2 separate regions of the Homo sapiens genome follow, and region 2 is linked to region 1. Evidence: promoter capture Hi-C in 16 types of primary human blood cells and fetal thymus (Javierre and others, 2016). All regions are on one chromosome and are shown on one strand. Each heading gives the region's core, a stretch centred on a gene start or on the middle of the fragment in contact. The rest is flanking DNA. Distances are from core to core; before and after follow the strand shown. Region 1 holds the start of NTN4 (netrin 4). Region 2 overlaps FGD6 (FYVE, RhoGEF and PH domain containing 6).

The links. The method cuts DNA at HindIII sites, captures the fragments that hold promoters and counts their contacts. A CHiCAGO score of 5 or more calls a contact.
Region 2: a fragment that was not itself captured here is called in contact with the fragment with the promoter of NTN4 in region 1 in 1 of 17 cell types (naive CD4 T cells); the score reaches 5.2 in naive CD4 T cells.

The regions. Positions count from the first base shown.
Region 1 is chr12:95,789,117-95,792,950 of GRCh38, forward strand. NTN4 (netrin 4) reads right to left here and starts at 1,648. Exons shown (of 10, transcript NM_021229.4): 1 at 1,139-1,648. The coding sequence starts at 1,193. It also overlaps the pseudogene RNU6-247P. The HindIII fragment of the contact is 5,039 bases long and covers 1-3,834 here.
Region 2 is chr12:95,109,626-95,113,459 of GRCh38, forward strand. The region is part of intron 9 of FGD6 (FYVE, RhoGEF and PH domain containing 6); the gene reads right to left. Among named protein-coding and RNA genes, the nearest start is that of NR2C1, 38 kb to the left of the region's middle. The HindIII fragment of the contact is 179 bases long and covers 1,983-2,161 here.

The sequences.
Region 1 (3,834 bases), core at 398-2,897:
CAGATAAAGAATCCATGGGGCAAAATACTTGGAGTCACTCAAGGGACTATTCAATGATACTAAGGATGCTCCTGTGACTTGGACTGGTTTGGGATGCAGACTGGAAAGCCTGGATTTTGCTGGGTGCCAGCGGCCCTCAGGGAAGAGTGGAAGCCCAAGGGAGGAGATGCGTGCTACAATGTTCTGTAGCCACCAGCGCATCCCTCTAGCCCAGGCGCCCCTTTCTGAAGCAGTCAAGATCCGCACGAGAGACTGGATGTCTGCAGACTCCCTCACATCTCTCCCCCTCACCTACAGGGCTGCGCTTACGCCTAACTGGAAACCAGGTGACCCGCAAGAGGGAGGGAGAGGAGCAGAAGGGGCTCCCGAATACAGAAACCACGAGCCAGGAGCCGGTGGCCTAGGGCAGCCCAAGAAAGCCAGGATGGGAGTGGGAGGGAGAGGGCATCTGCCGACGCCGACGCCGGTTGTCCAGTTACCGAGCCAGGGAGCAGACCCGCCTCCGACCTCCCGCAGAGTCTCTGCCAGGGTACCAATTCCCCAGGGGCGGCCAGCCAGCTCAATGCAAGCCCGGGGTGATCACCACCTATCGTCCAAGCCAGGAGTCCCACTGCGTTCCAGTCACTGCTCCGGGGAGAGGGCGCTCAGCCCTGCCCCAGGTGTCCTTACCTGGTTCTCTAGTACCCAGCACCAGGTCAGGGACACCAGCGATGGGCTTCTACCAGAGACCGGCCCCAGCCCACGCGCGCCCAGGGTCGCTGGGCCACCCCTCCTCATCATTCCTTAGGCCATGAAGTGCCGGGGGATGGCGAGCTGGGTCCTTTGTTCCCTCACCAAGTGGAAAAGCAGTTTTTTAACAAGCCAAACCAAGAAAGAAACCCCGGTCGCAGTATCCCCGGCAGGGCGCACCCAGGATAGCTGGTTATCCAAGCGCATGTGTATCCCAGTTGTAAAAATAAATCAATAGTATTTGAAACTGCGGAGCCCCGGGGAAAGGAGGCGGAACATGGCCACTCATTTCACCCTCGGGAGCAGCGCTCTGCGCTCGCAGCCCTGGCTCCCCTGCACCCCCGAGTCCCGAGATGGGTTAGAGAAGCAGCGAGGGAAGGGGTGGGGGCCCCGCCGCGTCACCACCCACCTGCGGCCACCACCGTGCAGCCCCAGAGCAGCAGCAGCCGCGCGCAGCTCCCCATGGCCGGGAGGAGCCGGGAGCAGCCGGGCCGGGCGGGTGCCGGAGGGAGCCGAGACCTCTGGGCTGCGGGATGAAGCGCCGCCGTCCTCGGGAGGGAACGGGGCCCTGGTTTCTTCCTCCTCCTGGGGCGCCGGGCTCGGTCAGCGGTCGCCGGCAGCTGGGAGCCAGGGGCCGGGACCGCGCGGGGAGGTGGGGTGACCCTCGCGCACCGGCCTGGCGGGTCCCGGGCACCTGGGGGGCGGCGGGAGCCCCGGGACCATAGCCGGCCTGGCTGCGCTGCCCCGCGGAGCGGCCCTGCGGGCTCGTCTGCCGCTAGCCCGGGGCTCGGCGCCCGCAGCCGCCGCTGAACTTTGCGAGACCTTTCACTTCCCGGCCGCCGCCGCCGCCTCCTCCTGGGCGTCCTCCTCCGCTTTTCCCACCTCTTCTGGCTGCCCCGGCTCCGTCCCGTCCTTCTCCACGGGCAGTTCCATGCGATGCATTTTTATTGCACCGACGCCGCGGCGCTCCGGTGCCAGCCCTCCTCCCCTCGCACCTCCACCCCTTCCTCCCGCCCGCCCCCCGCGCTTGACAGCCCGGGCGGCGCAGCCCGCGGGATCGGATCGCCGCTGCCGCTGCCGCCCGGGGGGGGGGTCCCCCGCGCCCCGACCGACGCCCCCGACGCCCGGCTGCCCGCTGGTCCCGGTCGCCTCAGCCTGGCCCCCGGCTGCCCTGGCGCCCCTCCTGGCCCGCGCCCTGCATCTCCCTAGTGACCCCCCTGGTGCCCTGCAGCACCCACAGGCCTCCCCTGGGAAGCAATCTCCCACCTTCTCCCGGAACATTCCTAAGAGCAGTAGACTCCCTCTAGATCAGGTCAGGGCATGCCAAGGGGCTTAAAAAACCGCGAAACAGGCTAGCGCCTACTTCCCACATCCCCCAGCGAAACAAGCCCTCCCTCCTCCTCCAGCCACCCCCTCTCGGGGAGTCCCACGACCCGGGGACGGAACACCCCAACCCAGCCCCGCGTCACCCGCACTGAGAGCGCGCCAACTGCTAAGCGGCGTTCGCCGCTTCTCTGCTGCCTTTTGCGGGGGTAGGGGGATGTCTCGGCTAAACAATCGCTGCCTACATGATCCGAAGGTGTGCCCACTTTGGTGTAAGAGGTATTGCCTAACTCAAACTCAAGGTGCTGAAAGAAAAGGGTCACAGGATTAGCTAGTCGGCAGTGTAAGAACATCGTTGTCCAGAGGCAGGGCAAGGGCACGACAAAGGGAACTCTTCGGTCCTTCCAAGCGTTCTCCCTTTATAGAGTATGCCGTGCTGTGAAACAGTGTTAGGAACTAACTTATGGGGAGCAATTTAGTAGCAACCACACGCAGCTAATTGCAGATAGGATTGCTCAGGGCTGGTGCTTCTGGAAAGAGATTAAATAGCAGCCGAGTCTGAGATTTTTGCAAGTTCTGTGAAAATATAATTCTACTTACACATCCAGGGAAACTGGCAAAAGTTAAGTCGACAGCAATTTTGTATTGCAGTGCTCATTTTGTTCCTTTGAATATTTTCCAGAAAATTAACTACGTTCCAGATACCATTTAGTCGTTGTGTCTGTTACAGATGAGGATAATTCAGAGCTTTGGGATACATGTAGATATTATTTACAATGACCCAGCCAGGAACATATAAGAAGTTTATATCTCCCAGGGGGATCTGGGTTGAGGTCAGCATAATCCATTTGGGCGACATTAAAATTATTCTTCTGGCCAACAGAGGAAAGTAGCAGAAGGTGTGGACAGCAATTCATGTAGCATCACCTGCTTTAGAAAATAAACGCTTTGAGTTCCCAAATACTGGCAATGGTGGGGCTTTCTTCATATCTCCTAATGGAGCCATTGAAACACCTCTCCAATTAATCTTTTTACCAAATAAATGATAGGAAACTATAACAGCCAAAGGTTCTTAGCATAAATGTTAACTTAATAGCCAAGGCAAATTAAACAAAGGGGTGGATGCACATTTATTATTAACTTCTGAGTCTAGTATATTTAGGCAGAACTAATCCATTTCTGTTTTTTAATTAACAAATAAACTTGTATGTATTTATCATGTACAACATGATGTTTTGAAATATGTATACAGCGTGGAATGACTAAATCTAGCCAATGAACATATGCATTTTTGCATATTAACATGCATTTAAGAATACACTCACTGTCTTAGCATTTTTCAAGAGTACAATATATTGCTAAAAATATAGAATGCTTCACAAATTTGTATGCCATTCTCATGCAGAGGCCATGCTAATCTTCTCTGTATTGTTCCAATTTTAGCATATGTGCTGCCAAAGCAATCACAGAACTACTCCATATCTCATTACAAATTTCAAAGCCATTTACTGTCTGCACGAATCCTGCATTGATAATATATTTCTTTGCTGAATAACTGGCTCTTATTTCCTTTAACAAGACAGAAAGCTCTCTAATGGTAGAACAGTCTTTAATATTCAGTTTATACAAAACATTACTATGTTTTTCTGATATTTTTCCTTATTCTTAGCCAAGAACACCTACAATAAGTGTTCATTACATGTTTTTGACTGAGTTGTGTTAAAACTATTGTTATATACTAAGGGGCTAAGGAGACTAAGGACTAAGGAGAAAACCAGTTAT
Region 2 (3,834 bases), core at 822-3,321, 680 kb before region 1:
GCTGAGGTGGGCGGATCATTTGAGCTCAGGAGATCGAGACCAGCCTCAGCAATAAGGTAAAACCTTGTTTCCACAAAAAATCCAAAAATTAGCTGGGTGTCGTGGCTCATGTCTGCAGTCCAGCAATTTGGGGCGCTCAGGTGGGAGGATCATTTGAGCCCAGGAGGTCAAGGCTGCAGTGAGCCCAGATCACACCACTGCATTCCAGCCTAGGTGACAGAATGAGGCCCTGTCTCAACAAAACAAAACGAAACAAAAACAACAACAGTAAATCAATTTCTGAAAAGGGGTTGAGGTGTTTTGGTCCAGTTATTGTAATCTATCAAAGGACTGTCTTCCTGGTACCAGCCGTGGAGGCTTCTGTATTCTTTTTTTTTTTCTTGCTCTGTCACCCAGGTTGGAGTGCAGTGGCGCGATCTTGGCTCACTGCAAGCTCCACCTCCCGGGTTCACACCATTCTCCTGCCTCAGCCTCCCAAGTAGCTGGGACTACAGGCACCTGCCACCACGTCCAGCTAATTTTTTGTATTTTTAGTAGAGACGGGGTTTCACCGTGTTAGCCAGGATGGTCTTGATCTCCTGACCTCGTGATCCGCCCGCCTCAGCCTCCCAAAGTGCTGGGATTACAGGTGTGAGCCACCACACCCGGCCTGTATTCTTTCCACATGTATCATCATCACTATTATTAAAGGAAAGCAGGTTTTTCCTTATATAGAGACCCTGACTATATATCAGAATTTTTTTTTTTTTTTGAGACAGTCTTGCTCTGTCTCCCAGGCTGAAGTGCAGTGGCATGATCTTGGCTTACTCAACCTCCGCCTCCCAGATTCAAGCAATTCTCCTGCCTCAGTCTCCTGCATAGCTGACATTACAGGTGCACACCAGTATGCCCAGCTAATTTTTGTATTTTTAGTAGAGACGGGGTTTCGCCATGTTGGCAGGGCTGGTCTCAAACTCCTGACCTCAGGTGATCCACCCGCCGCAGCCTCCCAAAGTGCTGGGATTACAGGTGTGAGCCACGGTACTCAGCCATGTATCAGAATTTACGGTGCCTGGTACCCTTTTCACAGCAGGTTCAAGAGGTTACCGTGGACACATTTCCTGCTTTCTGGCCTGCTGGAATTCCCGGTGGACAGGGGAGAGATGCCTTAAGATTTAATGGATGACAAAGCTGCTGCTGCTACTTGGTCACCTGGTCTCCCAAGCTCTACCTTCCCTACTCCATGCTGTGATTCTACTTTCCCCACGTCATCCCGTTAAGAGGCCCTGATGCCTCTATTCCTTTAACTCTTCTGCCTACCTTTCAAAGTTATTCTTGCCTCACCTTCCCTCACCCTTGAAGTCTCATCCACACTGCTCACCACTCTTTTTTTCCTGAGACAGAGTCTTGCTCTGTCGCCCAGGCTACAGTGCAGTCGCGGGATCTCGGCTTACTACAACCTCCATCTCCCAGGTTCAAGCGATTCTCATGCCTCAGCTACTGAGTACCTGGTATTACAGGCATGCACCCCCATGCCCCACTAATCTTTGTATTTTTAGTAGCAAAGGGTTTTGCCATGTTGCCCAGGCTGGTCTTGAATTCCTGGCCTCAAGTGACCCACCTGCCTCGGCCTCCCAAATTGCTGGGATTATAGGCATGAGCCACCACGCCCGGCCACTGCTCACCATATGATTGCTGTGCCTCTGGCCATACAGTGGGCCTCACTGTTCACTGGTTTTCTCATCTATGTCTTTGCTGTCACATGTAATTTCCTTTAAATAAGCTCCTTAATCTCTGACCCTGAATTTGTTTTATGTGTAAAATGGAGCTAATAACTCACTTTCATTGAAGGCAGAAGCCCAGGACCCAGGACAGATGTTTTCTTTCTATTCTATAAGTTCCATGTATAATTTGTATCCTCACGAGAGGGGCTGCCGTCGGGAATGCTCATTTTTCCTCTCACCCACTCTCCCACTCATCTCCAGTCCTACTTTTTCCTGCAAAGCTTCCCTGCCTCTTTAACCTTCACACTTTTCTCTGTCATCCAAATAATTCTGTCCTGCTCGGTGCACCCTTACTTTGAAGTCATTTGCTTTGTTCTTTATTTGATGGATATTATAAACTTCTTCATCAACTAGATATGATCACTGAAGACAGGAAACTTGTCAGATCCCCAACCACAAGCTTTTCCTTTAAAAAAAACCGCCTTTAAAAGCATAATGTACACAAACAGAAGATGTTAAGAGAAGTAAAATGATTAAAAGAATATATAAGAATCTCTACAAAAAGGGTTAAAAATGTTCACTTTTTACTCTGCAAATGTAAAGGATATACAAGAATGTGATCAGGCCAGGTGTGGTGGCTCATGCCTGTAATCCCAGCACTTTGGGAGACTGAGGCAGGTGGATCGCTTGAGCTCAGGAGTTCGAGACCAGCCTGGGCAAGATAGTGAAACCCTGTCTCTACAAAAAATATAAAAATTAGCAGGGTGTGATGGTATGTGCCTGTAATCCCAACTACTTGGAGGGCTGAGGCAAGAGAATTACTTGAGCCCAGGAGGTTGAGGCTGCAGTGAGCCGTGTTCATGCCACTGCACTCCAGCCTGGGTGACAAAGTAAGACTCTGTCTCAAAAAATTAAAAAAAAAAAATGTGATCAAAATTCATAAAATTAATGGACTTGCTTAACATGTTTCTGCAGTTAGACCCAGGCGTTGCTGGGCATGGTGGCTCACATCTGTAATCCCAGCACTTTGGGAAGCCAAGGTGGGCAGATCACTTGAGGTCAGGAGTTCGAGACCAGCCTGGCCAATATGGTGAAACCCCATCTCTACTAAAAATACAAAAATCAGCCGGGCATGGTGGTACATGCCTGTAGTCCCAGCTACTTGGGGGGCTGAGGCAGGATAATTGCTTGAACCCAGGAGGCAGAGGTTGCAGTGAGCCGATATCGTGCCACTGCACTCCAGCCTGGGTGACAGAGTGAGACTCTGTCTCAAACAAAAAAAGAACAAGGGGTATACCTGTGACATTTGAAAGAGGTTGTTGGGAATAAACAGAAACACCCAAACAGAATTAATCTGTGTGTATGTGTGTGTATCTGCGAGAGAGGGAGGGAGAGAGATTGTGAGGGAGAGAGACACAGGCACACAGACACAGGAACTCCAATTATCCCACTAGCTATGAGTCCCTCATGTTGTAATGGATTGTTTCCCTTAAGTACTACTAGGGCTGAGGGAAGGCTAATATCCTATTGTTAGACAGTGCCAGAATAATATGCTTTTTTAGACTCATCCCTGCTTTGTAGTTTAGTCACTTCATGGACTCATGATTTTGAAGCTTGAGGACCTTGCAGATCTGGTTCAATCCCTGTTTTTGAAAGACAAAGAAATGGACCTCTAGGGAAACTGAATATGGCACGGGCACAGAGTGACTGAGCACAGGAGGGCAAAGATTCCTGACCTCAGCCACCACGCTGGCTTCACAGTCGCAAGAGGCTGGTTCCCATGCAGGGCTGGCCATGGGTCTCCCCTGCCCATATCATCTCACCTATCCCCAGCACTGCTTTACTACTTAACTGGTTCTATGTTAATCTGCTCAAAATGGAGTTTCCAGGAAGGCCTCAAGTCTTTTTTTTTTTTTTTTTTTGAGAAGGAGTCTCGCTCTGTCGCCCAGGCTGGAGTGCAGTGGCGCTATCTCGGCTCACTGCAACCTCCGCCTTCCGGGTTCAAGCAATTCTCCTGCCTCAGCCTCCCAAGAAGCTGGGATTACAGACGTGCACCATCACACCTGGCTAGTTTTTGTATTTTTTTTAGTAGAGAAGGGGTTTCACCATGTAGGCCAGGCTGGTCTCAAAC